Regions from separate parts of the Homo sapiens genome. Here region 2 is linked to region 1. The links are contacts of gene promoters, found by promoter capture Hi-C in blood cells and fetal thymus (Javierre and others, 2016). All regions are on one chromosome and are shown on one strand. Each heading gives the region's core, a stretch centred on a gene start or on the middle of the fragment in contact. The rest is flanking DNA. Distances are from core to core; before and after follow the strand shown. Region 1 holds the start of VCP (valosin containing protein). Region 2 overlaps TLN1 (talin 1).

Region 1 (7,321 bases), core at 4,669-7,168:
TACGGCTTAAGGTATACCTCGAAGAGATTACCAGTAATGCCTTCCACTGTGTCATCAATGGGCAGCACATGGATACGTTTGCCGTACTTCACATCAGGGCATGGCTGGATGCTGAGGATGACAAGCAGACTCCATATTACCAACCACACTTCGGGCCCAAGCACTGGGTGTCCAAAAGGGCCTGGCACAGATAGCTGATAGTAAGTGAAAAAGAAAAGGCAGGATGGCTTTAGGCGAAGAGAGGAAGGAGAACAGGGTGGAAGTGAGGGCGAAGGAACAGCCCCACTCACTCCTAATCAGTGAGCCAAAATCAAGAGCCACACATTTAGAAACCCCACAAAGACATGCAGGGTCTTCAGGGAGATATCCAAGGATGATCCCCTTCTAGCTAATACTGGTGACCCAATATTACAAGGGAAGGTCTTAAGCTAACAATTGTCAGGGTCAGTGAAACAGAAGTGAAAAAAACAAAATTATCTCAGCCAGGTGGTCAGAACACCTTGAGGAAGTGACTAAGCACTCCCAAGAAGAAAGCTACATGAAACTTAGACTCCATTCAAAAGAATCAAAAGCCTGAGATGATCCTGGCCAGGTGATGGTTGGTTGGGTAGGAGTGGCTAGAGATGACTCCAAGATGGGGTAACCTCTTGCCTAAAATTATGCAAGAACAAGCAAAATCACTCACATTGAGAGCTATCCCAGGTCTGGCTCCAACTATTCCTCTCTCCCGGGTTAACTTAGGGGCTTAAAAGACCTGCTAGCAGCTCACCTTCCATGCCCATACCCCCACCTCATTCCAACCCCAACACAAGCCATCAATTAGACATACTAGTGAGAGTAGTGAGGAGATTATTTGGCATATACATACACACCCTCGAGTGGTATCCTAAGCCAGGATATAAGTATGATAAATTACACCTCTAGTAGGAAAAAATAAAGCCATCAAGAAAGTTACAGGAACGCCAATTTGTCTCAAGGGACCTGCAGAAATGGATTTTGAAGTCCCAGGGAGGCAGAACCAAAACCTAAAGACAACCCTGAAGCATAAGTCTTCCCATGACCAGGAGGCTTCCTGCATCGACAGGTGCCAAGAACTTGGTCCTGCCTGTAATACATGGGTCCTGCCTGTAATGCAGGCTATCTCTGGCCTCCCATCCCTGTGAAGCCAAAAACCCCACACACACCTGATGACATCCCCTAGGCGTACACGAAGGTTATTCCGAACAACTCTATTCATCCGAATCTTCTCATCAGAACAAGTATCATCAGAAAGGACGATGCAAACAGCTTCTCGTCTCTTCTTTCCTTTCAGCAACACTGTGTCACCTCGGAACAACTGCAATTCATCCATCTTGGGCTGAGGAAAGAAAGTTAAGGCCTTTGGGTCATTGGGCTGACGGGGAGTAAGCAGCAGCCCTGGAGATTGGGATTCCCAGTAAACCCCACTCTATCTGCAGTCACTGCAAGAAAAATGAGAAAAGAAACCTGGGAAAATCCCTCAAGTAAGTGCAGTAAGGAAAGACTAGTCTGTGGCCACAGCTTACCTGGGACAAGGACACCACACTGTTGTCCTCATTGATGGCTTCATCAACAATTAACCGATTGGGACGGTTCTTCTGTTTGAGAATGGCTGTTGATAGGTCATCACCTTTTGAACTAGAAGGAGGAAATGGAGTCAGTAGATACTCCTGCCCCAAGCGCCTCGCCAGTCTCTAAAACTCATACTTAGGAAAGAAACAGTGAATAGATGAAGCTGTCCCTAGACCAGAAAGCTCAGATGAAGGAAAGGCAGCCAAGGTCACGAGGAGCAGTATCTACCATACATATTACAATACCCATTCCAGCAGCTCCTGGTATTTTGAGCGTCAGTGTCCCAGCTATAAGGCCCCAAGTGAGTGATCCTGCCCCAGGGTCAGAAAATAATGGCCTAAGAAGAAGACATAATAGAAATGGAGGCTGAATAGTTGTTAGAGAAATAAAAATAGTCTTAGACTTACAGAAGAGTGGTTAAGAGCAGGAACTCTATAGTCAGACCCATTGGGTCTGAATTCCAATTATGCCACTGCTTAATTGTGATCTTGGGCAAGTTACCTAACCTCTGAACTTTGATGTCCTCCTCTATAAAAGAAGGAATATAATACTTATCTCAGAGGCTTATTGTCTTAAGGGAGATAATGAATGTAAAATGCTTAACATAATACCTGGCACATGGTATTAATGGTCACCATGATTAACAGTATAGAGTAAAGCATAAGCTAACTTTCCAGGGAATTAAGTAAGCCAGACAACCTCCCTTGAGGCTCAGGGAGGCCTTAAGTTCTACCAAGCAAGCCTGGGGACAACGAAGCAGAATCATTGGTGCTACCCTCCTTATAGGCTAAACCTACTGATGCCAGGGCATTCCATAGTACCAAAGGAATGCCAAGCATAAAGACCATCATATTTGGAAAAAACACTAACAGACATCAAACCGCCAGAAAGAGGCTCAAGGTCAAAAGGAACTTCACAGTAATATCTGCAAAAGTACACAATTCCATAAAGTTGGCTCAAAAAATCAAAACCAAGAAATGCTGAGACATGGGGCAAATCCAAATCCCTCTCACCCAAATCAAAGTCGACTGGGTCTACACTCAGTGTTATTTCCTAGAAGCTAGGATCATTCACCAGACAGTGACACCAACTTATTACCTAGCCCGTTTCCAGCTGTCACTTACTAGACTCAGCAAGCTCCCTCTCCCTTTTTTTTTTTTTTTTTTTTTTTTTGAGATGGAGTTTCGCTTTTGTTGTCCAGGCTGGAATGCAATGCTGCGATCTCAGCTAACTGCAACCTCCACCTCCCGGGTTCAAGTGATTCTCCTGCCTCAGCCTCCCGAGTAGCTGGGATTACAGGCATGCGCCACCACACCTGGCTAATTTTGCATTTTTACTAGAGATGGGGTTTCACCATGGTGGTCAGGCTGGTCTCGAACTCCTGACCTCAGGTGATCTGCCCACCTCGGCCTCCCAAAGTACTGGGATTACAGGCGTGAGCCACAGCACCCAGCGCTCTCTCTTTTTTAAGAGCGGCCTCGTGTTAGTAAGGCTCAGGAAAACATAAGCATTAACCAAAGTAGGAAGGCCAGACAATGAAGGAAGCAAAGAAAATAAATTTTTAAAACGAATTTCTTCATTCAACAAATTCATGAGTCTCTATTATGTACCAGGCATTGTTCTAAGGGCTGGGGATACTGAAGTCAACAAAACAAGACAAAATAGTATTCCCATTGGAAATATCCTCACAATTTGCAAGAGACAAAGAAAAATGCTGTGCTCAGCTAGGAAGCCATGGGGTTCTTACATCTTTGGGTCCTGATACACCCAAGAGAAAAACAAACCCCATTCATCTAACAAAATGGTAGGCCTTCTGCTAACCCTCACACATAGGCTGCATTTTTAACCACTGCCTCTAAACTAGTTTCTAACGACAGTTTCCTCTGCTCAAATTTGCTTCCCCCATTCCAAAAGTCTGCCACTCCAGGCACAATGCTGCTGAGTAGGCAGACTCTTCCAATGCTTATCAACACACTAGAGGCCAAGCATGCTCAATGTGACAGTTGAGAGCAATGTAAACCCACGAGCTCTCCCACTCCTGTCCCATCAAAATACTCTTCCAGGGACTGCCCATCTTCTTGCTTGACTTATAGAACTGGGACTGGAGAAAAATAAAACGCCAGATGCCTCTAGTCACCATAGTTTTTTATTTTTTGAAACGGAGTCTCCCTCTGTTGCCCAGGCTGGAGTGCAGTGGCGCGATCTCCCTCACTGCAATCTCTGCCTCCCTGGGTTCAAGTGATTCTCCTGTCTCAGCCTCCAGAGTGGCTGGGACTACAGGTGTGCACCATCACCATGCCTGGCTACTTTTTGCATTTTAATAGAGATGGGGTTTCTCCATGTTGCCCGGGCTGGTCTCAAACTCCTGACCTCAAGTGATCTGCCTGCCTCGGCCTCCCAAAATGCTGGGATTACAGGCCTGAGCCACTGTGCCCGGTCAATAGTTTGTATTTTAATCTCAAAGCTGTATCCTAGGAAAACCTCCATTCTGCCTACCATCCCGGACTCTGGCTCTGGAGATGAGTGGTATGCCCTTTTCTTAAGGTAAAGCCTCTAATTCCCCATCTACCTACTGAGATCAGATGTGGTAATCTCTAAAAGACTGAATTTGGCCTGACCATGGGCCAACAGCAGTTCTGGACACTCTTTGGGGCAATCCTCCATTGTCTTCTGTATAAGTCAATCCCTTTCCAGAACTGCACAGGGGACTCCACGGGACTTGGAAGGGTTTCAGCTAAGAGTCATCAAGGTGACCAAGAGGTTAGAAACAGCTGATGATGCCAGGTTCCAAGAATTTTAGATTTTTACTTTTGAAAATAAGAGGCTGACTGCATATAAACCAAAAGAATACTTTCAGAATAAGTGACTCTTTTAAATAAGCAACTGAGTAATACTTTATCCGAATTCAGAAACTTGAGAAAAAGGAACACACCTCAAAAAACTAATCTCTTCAAGGAAGGAAGGTAATTTGCATAGAGTTTCCTTGGGCTGGCTGTGTTTTTTTTTTTTTTTTTTTTTTTTTTTTTGCCTCTAAAAGCTCTCTATTCTAAATTGAATGGGCTGAGGTAGCCAAGTTTTATCTAACGCTTTCCTAAGGATGGAGGTGGGGTCAGAAAGCCCCAGAGCCCGGGTAATTTCTCAATATAGCTGGTTGGGGAAAGGAGTGCGCGCACGTTTGTGTTTTTGAAGAGTTAGTGCAACTCTAAACTGCACACCACGAAACCTGGAAATCTGGAAAGGCGCACAAAACACGAACTGAGATTCCAACTTTAGCAAGAACCTAAAATGTTAAAGAAAAATTCCTTTCTCCCCACCCACGAGTCATAACATTAAGGAAAACTGGCTCAAACTTTCTAGTATGAACAACAGGCCTAAAGTAAGAAGACCAGAAGCGAAAGGTAGGGCTCGCCCTCTCCCTAACAGTCCTTCACGACTCAGGTCACACACAGAGGATGCCCACCTCCGGCCCCGCCGACCCGGCTCCAAAAAGGCGGCTGTGAGCTTCCCTGAGCTCGGCGGGCCTTCCCCGACCCCGGGCTCCGCCTCGGTGGCAGAGCTCCTGAGGCCTTCACATGGCGCAAAGTCCACGCCCACCGGGCCCGGCTGGGGCCTCGGGCTCGCGGGGCCTGCTCTCTCCGGGGACCAAAGGCTTTCGGCGGGTGGTAGGCCGGACGGCAGACTGGCGCCCCAAAGCCCCGGGGCGCCGCGCCGGCGGAGTGGGCCGGAAGACCTGGCCAGGCCCAGACGTCCGTTCTAAGGGAGCCAATCGGGCGGGCCGGGGCCTGCATGACACAGCACGATCCGGCCCAGGCTCCGACCCGGACCCAACGCAAGCCCCGCCTAGGGGGCGCGCGGGTGCGCAGCTGGCCCCAGCCGGGCCTGCCGGGTCCACGGCCCCTCACTCGCCCCCTAGCTTCCCTTCCCTCTTTCCTGGTCTCCACCTCTCTGACGCGCCCACGGCCAGGCCCCGCCGGGCCTACCCTGCGCGGCTGGTCCCGGTGCGCGCCGCCGCAGCAAGCGAACGGCGCGCGCACACTCACTCGGCTCCAGAAGCCATGGCGCGCGCCTCTCCCGGCCGGCGGCTGTGGCGGCCCGCGGGTAACGGCTACGAGCGGTGGCAAGCGACCGACTGGGCCGGGGCTCGGCTCTTCCAGGCGGTGGGCGAGCAGCGGCGACAAACCCGCAAGCGGCTTCCCTCTCGCTTCCTCCCACCGGCAGCGAGGCGTCGGGCGAACAACGCTGGCTCCTGATCCGCGAGGTGGCAGTGGCAGTGGCAGCGGCAGCGGCAGCGACGACTCAAACGACGGTCGCAGACGCTTCGCTGAGACTGAGCCGAGAAGAGCCGAATCATCGGAAGGGAAGCTGCTCCCACCTCAGCCAATCAGCGCCTGCCCTGCGGACTCTCGCCCGCCTCTCCGCGCCTCTCCCCAGCAACCCGCAGATCACAGCCAATCAGGAAATTCGCTTGCGGCCTGGCTCCCGCCTCAGTGATGCGACACGCCTAGTAACGCCACGTCAATTGGCCGCAACGCTACGCTTCCTCGACGGATTGGAATTCTCAGCCAATCAACGAAAGGAATAGGGCGAGATCGATTAGTGAAAGGAGACCCTTTAATCCCTTAGAGGCGGACTCTCCCACTTGGCTCCAGTTCATTGGCTCCGGAGTTTATCCTCCTGGAAGAACGTGGCACAATAGACTGAACCCTTGTATTAGTCTAGTCCTATTGTGGTAACCCATACACCCATCTTCTCCCAAAACCTGGAGATCTTCTAAGACGCCATCACCACCCTGACACTTCTTGCTCCTTCTCAACGCTGCCTCCAACCACCCCTACTCTGAACTTTCTGACTAGCACCCCACTCCTACCCCATTGTCACTGCACCCTCTGGTAACCCCAATCCCACAGCCTTTGCAGTTTCTCAGCGCTTGTGCCTTTCTTCCTCCCGTCATTAATATTAATACCTTATAATAAGGCACTCAAATCCAGAGAAGTCAAAGGGCAACCACAGAACACACAGCCAATTCAGTAGAACCCAAATTAGCAAGAAAACTGCATATGCTGGGACTTGAAAATCCTTGGGCCCCAAATAACAGGGGTCCCTGTTAGTAGTCAACAGGCAGCTGTTGGTGATATGCTGACTCAATTCACCTTTCACCCTGTACCCACACAGACACATTTGACTAAGACGAGTCGAATTTCTAGAATTTGGAATTAGGAAGGGAGTGAAGAGTTACTCTGAGAGAAACCTGCCTGTCTCTAAGTAACAGGTACCTGCCCTTGTCCTGAGAGGCCTATCTAGACCACCCTTCAGACCCAACTCCACTCATTGTCACTGTCCTGGGCTTTGGGGCTCTGCATTCAGGCAATGTGAAGGACTAAAGCCACTGCCTCCAAAGTGAGGATTCCTGTAGCCCTTTCCTCATACCCAGACTTCAAGTTCATAAGGTAGACGATGTCAGGAAAGGGCATCATAGACAACTAGCACTCAACTAGACGGTCACAAGCCTTCCCACGCAAGTATATGTAGTAGGCAGACGAGATAAATATGAAATTTTACTCGACAACAGAAAAGGAGAAACAGGAAAAAAGGTGCCTCGAGCAAAGTCAATGACTTGGTGGTGGCAGAGATTGTTTCCTCCAAAACGAGAATGGTAGTAACTAGGGCAAATTTCACAGGCCTACCACCAATCTCACCAGTCCAGGAATTATATAGGAATGGTCACATTCCT
Region 2 (7,475 bases), core at 2,959-5,458, 650 kb after region 1:
GAGCAGCTCTGGGGCACGGAGGTGAAGGAAGACTTTAGGATTTGAGTAAGAATGAGGTCTTAAACATACTTACTGTCTCCCCAGGTAAGGGTTTAAGCTTGCCATCTCGAGCTGCTGCCTTCACTTCCTGTAGATCTTTCTCTAGATTCTGTACCACACTCAGTGCAGAATCCATCTCCAAAGGTCCACATGCTTCCTGAGCCTATGATAAGAAAGGGGTTTTGGGTGTAGAAGGTCCTGCTGTGTCTCACCAATGCCTCTGATTACACAATTATCTGCGTATTGGGTTATTCTGCACAGATTTCCTCTCATCACAGGACTCCAGCCTCATCTTCCAAAGCCAGAACCAGCTTCCATACCTTCTGGGCAGCCGTCCGGAGTTCAGCCAGCGCGGTGCCCAGGTTCTTGGCACACTGACTCAGCTGCATGGCTGAAGCCTGGTCCTGAATCGTTGGCACTGAGGCCTTTGCAGCTGCCACCATCTTCCCACCTGGCTGTTGGGGAATAGGCAGGTGGATGAAGTGTGCCATCCTCCCTCTGGGCTTGGGTACAAGGACTGATGATGGTCAGGATGTAGGGAACACTGGGGCTTGGTATTGGGAAAGAGGCTCTTGGCAGAGATTCAAACTGTGGGAGATGGAAGCTTAGAAAGGTGGGAAGGTCAGGTCAGAGAAGTGCAGAGGGGGTGCCTTGCCTGCAGGAAGCTCTGGCTGGCAGCAATGAGGGCAAGCTGAGCGCTGGGGCTGTCAGGCTGGGCTTGGCTTCCTCGGACGCCCTGCACCAGCAGTGGAATCTGCTCTGCCACTGCCTGTAGGTGAAAATGTCATAAGAGACCCACAAGTCTCCCTCTTCCACTCCCACATCCTTCCTAGAGTCTTACCTTGCAGCTCTGCACCAGCAGGGGCTGGGGGCCGGCAGAGGCCTTGGGGGTAGAGGCTGCGTGCTGAGCTGCAGCGATGGTCTGTGTGGCTGAGGCTGCAGCCTGCTTGGCTGCATGCTGTGAAGACAAGAGTAGTCAGACCAAGCCCATGGATTCCCATGCCCAGCCCAGTCCCTGGCCTACCTTGCCCAGGTTATGCCTCAAGGACGTATTAACTTACTCTCCGCACCTCCCTTTCAGTTCATTCCTCCCACAGCACCCACACTCTCTCTTGCTCCTGGTGAAACTCCCAGCCTCACCTCCAGGCGCTGCACCAGCTTTTTCTTGATGGCATTCTGCGCAGCTGCATTGGTGGCCATGCGCAGCCCCTCAGCTGCCTCCCGCAGCCGCTGCTGCTGCTCCTCACTGTCAGGGTGGGCAGCTGCTCCCTGAGGGAGAGGTGGAAAGACAGTCATCACCCAGCTCTCCTGTGGATCCTAAAGAAGCTCCTCTCTCACTCCTCTAGACTCAGTTTAAAATTCATGTATTTTCCTGAAGTCATCTCTAACTAGCCCCACCAAAAGGCAATCACCTTTGAGAGGAGCTGACTCATGAAGGTCAATGGGAAACCTCAGGGGGCTAGGATTCCCACTGGATGCTGAAATCCTTTCTTAAGGTGGAATTGTTTTGTCTTCCCCTCCTTGGGGAATACCACACGAGTGAGGTGAGTAGGGCTTCCTGGACAAAGGAGGACTCAGTTTAGAGCAGGCATCTCAGGAATACCAAAGCAGGGGACCTGCTTACTCCTGCCAACTGAAAAGCCCCAGAGTCCAGGGGGCCTAGGAATCATCTGGGCTTCTTTCTGATGGTTCTCTGCATGCTGGTGTCTCAGTGTCCTGCTGGCAGCAGAGGCCCCAGAGACTGAATGCCTATGTGTATTCACAGGGGAGACCAGGAAGGAAAGGAATCCCAGGCAGGGTAGCAGCAAAGAAGGTAAAAATAGGCCTTGGACTTAAGACCTTGGACTTAAAGAAAAAGGATCTGGTTGCCTACTACAGAGGAATGGGAGAGATTTATTAAAGGACACAAAATTATAGCTAGATAGGAGTAAGTTCTAGCGTTCTACACCACTGTAGGATGACTAAAGTTAAGACTATTATATAGTTCCAAATAGCTAGGGGGAGGATACTGAATGTTCCCAACACAAAGAAATGATAAATATTTGGATAAATGATGGATATGTTAATTACTCTGATCTGATTACTATACATGTATTGAAATGTCACTATGTACCTCATGAATATGTAAAATTATGTCAATTAAAAAATAATTTTAGGCCAGGTGTGGTGGCTCATGCCTGCAATCCTAACACTTCGGGAGGCCAAGGTGGGAGGATCACTTGAGTCCAAGAGTTTGAGACCAGCCTGGGCAACACAGTGAGACCACATCTTTAAAAAAAAAAAAAAAAAAAAAGCCTGGGTCATGGCTCACCCACAGCCTTGGGGCTCATTCATTTCCTGAGTGCTCCTATATTTGTCCTCTTGTGTTTTCTGCTTTTCCTGGGTCTCCCTCATCAGATGAGGGTGACCATCTGGACTGCTCTACTTCCCTCTAGGGTCCAGTCTGGGAGTGTGCACAGAAGGCTTTGTACCTTGGCAGCCTCTACCATCTTGGCTGTGGCATCAGCTAGGATCTTGGCAGCACTTAAGAGCTTGCGGGAGTTCTCCAGATCACTTTCCCCCTCAGCATCAGCCTTGATGGCATTGACCAGGTCAGATGTGGCTTGGGCCAGGATGCGGGCCTGTCGCACCATCTCCCCTGAGAGCATAGGGCACAGTCAGGCGAGGAAGCCAGAGACACTGAGGTGTCAGGGGTGGGGACAAAGGTGGGGAAAAGTGGTGTAGACAAGGTAGATGGGGGCTTTAGGGACAGAAAAAGAGACTGGCAAAAGCTCTTGCATCATTTCTTTGGGGCTATTTTTTTTCTGGGTTTAGGATCTTGGAGAAAAAGATTCTCCAGTGGGTTCTTACGGGAGAAGGACAGTCTCCAATGGGTATTTTCAGCCAGTAGCCTTGAGAAGATGAGACACTCTCTGAAAACTTTTGGGGTCAGGGGTATAGTAGGGAAGGCTATACCACTTTCATGTCACTTTCTATATATTTTTGTGCGTACTTTGGTATATTCTTTAAATGCTCCAGGGAAGGTAGAGGACTTAATATTCCTTTTACAGAAGGGGAAGCAGAGGGTTCAGAGAGCTTTAATGATGAGCCTATGGTTGTGTGGCTGGCAAGCCCACACTGTGCTGAGTTCCTTGGGGTGAAGTGGTTAGGTCCGCAAGGGGATGATGTCCAGTGGGCTTAGGGAACCCTGGTAGGGTTTTTTGTTTTCCTGGGGGTGCGTGTCTTACCAGCATCACCCATGGAGCTAAAGATGTTCTCAGTGACGGTTAGGATGGTGTCAGTAGCCTGGTCATAACGGCCAGCAGGCCCAGCCCCTGTGGCATGGGCTTTCACATGCTGCAGCAGCTCATTTAGGGCCTGGGTGACAGCTGTGGCTGCTGCTCCTACCCCTCGCAACAGTTGCCCATCCTCTGTAGCTGCCTGGGAGGCAGACACACAGCCCTCCACGGCTTTGGCTACCAGTCGTCCAGCCTCCACCAGTTGCTCTTGGCAGACAGGTGAGCTGATTGTAGGTGCCACCACCTGTAGGTAAAGTGAATGTCAGAGACGTAGGCAAGGGAAAGGAGGTAGAGTATGCTGCTCATAGCAGTAACTGGGATGGGTGAGGAGGCCTCCAGAGCCAAAGAAATAAAATGAAAGGCTCACGTGTGTGTGGTAGTATTACCCCTCAGCACGGACTAGAGCAACCTTTGGGGCTCACCTTAGTACAGGCCACTAGTTGGGAAGTGGATAGGGCACACTGTGTTGCTGCAGCAATAACTTGGGTCTGAAGTCCCGAGTCCTCTGTCCGCTGGGCCACACTCTTGGCCTTGAGGACCAGGGCAGCTGCAGCACTTGCCACAGCTTTGGCGAGCTGCATTAGCGCATCCTGTGAGAAAACAGCAGTTAGCATGACCTGAGATTGGGCTTGGGATTCACAGACACTTCTCAGAGGCGTAAGCTGCTTCATTATTCCCACTGATCCAATCAAAGGAGAGTGTACGCAGAAGCAACCAGAACCTACCCCGAGCTACTGCCCTGAGCACCCAGCAGGACAGAACCCCCACCGAGGAACAAACCCACACCAAGAGAAAATACAGCCTACACCAAATGGAGACACACATGAGGCGGATACACTCGATGATGACGGGGAGACAATGTGGTGGCGCTGTTACAATGGGGTGGGGAGAGGAGGTAGGAGGTATCTCCTGGGATCCCTCCACCCCCAGCTTCTTTACTCCACTTCTTGATCTTGGATTGGAAGTGGTCATCCTGGAGTCTTGGGAGCAAGTCCCTGTACTACCCTACCTGATCCCATTTCCCAAAGCCTGGCTTCGCCAGGCCTCCTCATCTCCCACCAAGTTCTGGTCCCCCAGGAGGCTGAGGAAGAAGTACAGAAACGAGTGTATGCGGCTCAGAGAGGACAAAGCTGGGAAGGCCCAGGCCAGAGGCTGTTACCGTAGGGGAATCGGGGGGAGATCGAACCCCAGCCCCTCTGGATGCACATATCTGCATGGGAAATCCAGGGTGAAAAGTCAGCTGAGGAAATTGGCATGGAGCGGGAAGGGGGAGAGCTAGAGGAACACTATTCTCAGGGTGGCATGGTCTATAGCATTGTGGGGGGTCCTCAAATTGGGGCAAGGGCTATGTACGGGGAAGAGAGAGAAAAGATGACAAGGGGCTAAAGAATAAATGAGGGCCAAGAGTAAACTAGCAGGTTAAGTTTGGATTCAGGGGTTCTGAATTCTAACCCCTAAAAGAGAGATCAGAAGTTACTAGTATCATCCCCTGGAAATAGAGGTTCAGATTGGTTTTTAGGGGTCAATTCACAGAAGCCAGGACTAGGAACTGGATTCACGAGCAGAAGTTACTTCCTAGATTCTGGGGTTCTGGGGGGTTGGGTAAGTCACCAACCTGGAAGTGGGGGTCAGTATCACTTTCCCCAATTTGTTGCAACAGCTCCCCACTGGCCTGGCCCACGTTCCCAGCTGCTTGCAGCAGGTTCTGACGGGGCTGTGGAGAGTGAACACCAGTCAGAAGCTGCCCAATCCCTGCCCACATGCCTGTGCATATCACAGGCCCACGGGACCCAGGCTTCCATCCTGTGGCTTGGACTGCCCCTTCTCCTTGGGCTTGAACCCTGTCTCCACCCTAACCCAAACCTGTGGCCCCTGACCTCAGCACTGGCTGGTTGGGCACTGCGCAGCAGTTCTGACACTGCTCCCGCAAGGCCCTTTGCTGCCTGCAACAGGGGCCGACCACTGCCGCCTTCGTCCTCCAGCAAGGCAGCCAGCAGCTTCACCCCACGGGACATCTCCGTCAGGTTGGAGGAGATTGTGGTGACTGCACAGCCCACTGCGGTATAGTCTGTCTCAGCAGGGTCCCCTAAGGGGAAAAGGAGAAAGAGGAACATGAGAGACAGGGCAGGCCAGACGAAGGGCTGGGGAGGGAGCAAAGTCACACCCAGTTAGTCACACACATGTCCACAGAAAGACGCACACACACAGTCCCTTCCACAGTGAGTCAAGGCACAGTCACACATGAAGCCAGTCACATGCATGCCTGTGCACACTTGCACCCCCTCTCCCCATCACACACCCGGAAGCTAGCATCCGGCCTACCTGCTGTCAGGTTCACCACAGACGCAGTACCAGCTGTGATGGCATCTACCTGAGAGTGGATCTCATGCTTTGATTCATCCATCTTGTTTTTACGCCAGGCCTTAGAGGCCTGAAAGAGAGAGGAAAAGCCTTCAGGATCTGCCCTGGTTTGGTTCACCTCATCCCTATCCCTTGGAGTCTCAGCTTCAGTACCACCGGCCTCTCCTCCATCCCATACTTACAGCATCCTGGCCAAGAGGCGGCAGAGTGTCAAAGTCATCCAGGGTGGCCTGGGCAGCCTGCACGGCCTGCATGCTGGAGTTAATGGTTCCAGTGAGTGCCTGCTGGGCTGAAGTCTAAAGACAAGTGGGGAGAAACAGGGACTGGAATGGATGTTTGGAGAAAAGAGAAGGTAAAAGAGAACCAGGGTCTAGGGAGAGAATACAAATAGGGACCTGGGAAAAGACTGCCTAACTCCTGGCTCGGCCCAGCTGAGGGTGAGAGAAGGGCCCTGGCACCGTGGTGGAAGTGGGACACTTACCAGAGGAGGCATGTGTCCTCGGTGCATCTGGCCGCTGGTAATCTGCTGCTGGGCAGGGGGCATGCTGCCCACCTGGAAATTCTCAGGACCAGAGGCTCCAGAGCGCATGATGGCAGGCAGGGCCACAGAGCCATGCTCCACTTTCCCCACCCGGTTGTATTGCTGCTGCAGGACTGTTGACCTGTAGAGGGGTGAACTATTGAGCTCACAGAGGACTCCTCATCTCTACCCGTCCCACCCGGTTACACTACCTTTGCAGGTGTGTGAGGTCTCACTACAGCCTGCAACTAGTTAAAGAACCATTCTAAGGACTCCCCACCTCCCAAGAGTCCTTAGAGTCAGGCCTTGCCTTCTCTACCCCTGGGAAATGGGATCAGCCCAACTCCCTTCGTACTTTTTGGGGGACACTGAGTCCTCCAGCATAGTAGACTCCTCATCTCCTTCCAGCCCAAAGTGATCCTTGCTTTTTTTCTGTAGGAAGGAAAAAGGAACAAGAGTTGGGATAGTTAAAGAAGAGGGAAGTGGAGAAAAGGCAGCCTCTTCTTTCCATAACCAGCCATTTTCCAGAAGCTGAGTGTCCATTTCTTTTTCTTTTTTTTTTTTTTTTGACAAGAAAGGGCTCTGTCACCCAGGCTGGAGTGCAGAGGCAAGATCTCGGCTCATTGCAACCTCCGCCTCCCAGGTTCAAGCAATCTGAGTGCCCATTTCTAAAGGACTGGCTTGTGGAGAGGGCAAGAGGCGATAAGGAGAAGGCTAGGGCAGGCAGTGCTCACCTTCTTCAGGATGATATCGATGTAGCCGGCAATGAGCTGTGCAATCTGCTCCCCTTCAGTTGTCTGTACTGAGTAATAGCCATCTTGGTAATCTCCAAAATCCTAGGGTGACAAGTGGGGGACTCAGAGGGAAAGCTCAAATCTATCCAGGATGGAAATGGCTAGGATGGGAGGCCCAAGGTTGAGCTGATGAGATGCCTTCCCGTGGCAACGGCCCTCTTGGAAGATGCCCACCTTTCTTGAACCTCCTCTTTATTTTCTCCTTGGAGGGAAATTTTTTACTTCTGAGGAGTGGCCTCTACACTACACAGTTTCAAATACATATCATTTAGGAAGTCTCTTATTTTTACTCTGATGATAAAATTGAGAGGATATAATATTTGGCATAAAATGGCCACACTTTAAGGTTGGCTGTAGTATCCAAAAGGGAAAAAACAGCATTTCCTATAATTTGTATTTGTGTCATTAGGGTACTTTATCAAGTTGATATCAGTTTTCAATTCATAACCCTATAATATAAAGTCAAAAATTCACTGTATATAG

Evidence for each region. The method cuts DNA at HindIII sites, captures the fragments that hold promoters and counts their contacts. A CHiCAGO score of 5 or more calls a contact.
Region 2: a fragment that was not itself captured here is called in contact with the fragment with the promoter of VCP in region 1 in 1 of 17 cell types (neutrophils); the score reaches 5.4 in neutrophils.

What each region holds. Positions count from the first base shown.
Region 1 is chr9:35,066,707-35,074,027 of GRCh38, forward strand. VCP (valosin containing protein) reads right to left here and starts at 5,919. Exons shown (of 17, transcript NM_007126.5): 1 at 5,631-5,919; 2 at 1,545-1,656; 3 at 1,185-1,357; 4 at 1-111. The coding sequence starts at 5,647. FANCG (FA complementation group G) reads right to left here. Exons shown (of 14, transcript NM_004629.2): 14 at 7,133-7,321. RefSeq lists a silencer at 4,997-5,626 and enhancers at 6,027-6,076, 6,277-6,416, 6,437-6,486. The HindIII fragment of the contact is 17,727 bases long and covers 1-7,321 here.
Region 2 is chr9:35,713,880-35,721,354 of GRCh38, forward strand. TLN1 (talin 1) reads right to left here. Exons shown (of 57, transcript NM_006289.4): 11 at 6,933-7,034; 12 at 6,554-6,630; 13 at 6,160-6,340; 14 at 5,861-5,974; 15 at 5,640-5,748; 16 at 5,195-5,403; 17 at 4,933-5,031; 18 at 3,740-3,907; 19 at 3,267-3,561; 20 at 2,511-2,677; 21 at 1,180-1,308; 22 at 881-997; 23 at 695-808; 24 at 360-494; 1 more. Among named protein-coding and RNA genes, the nearest start is that of MIR6852, 6.9 kb to the left of the region's middle. RefSeq lists an enhancer at 828-1,732. The HindIII fragment of the contact is 7,135 bases long and covers 642-7,475 here.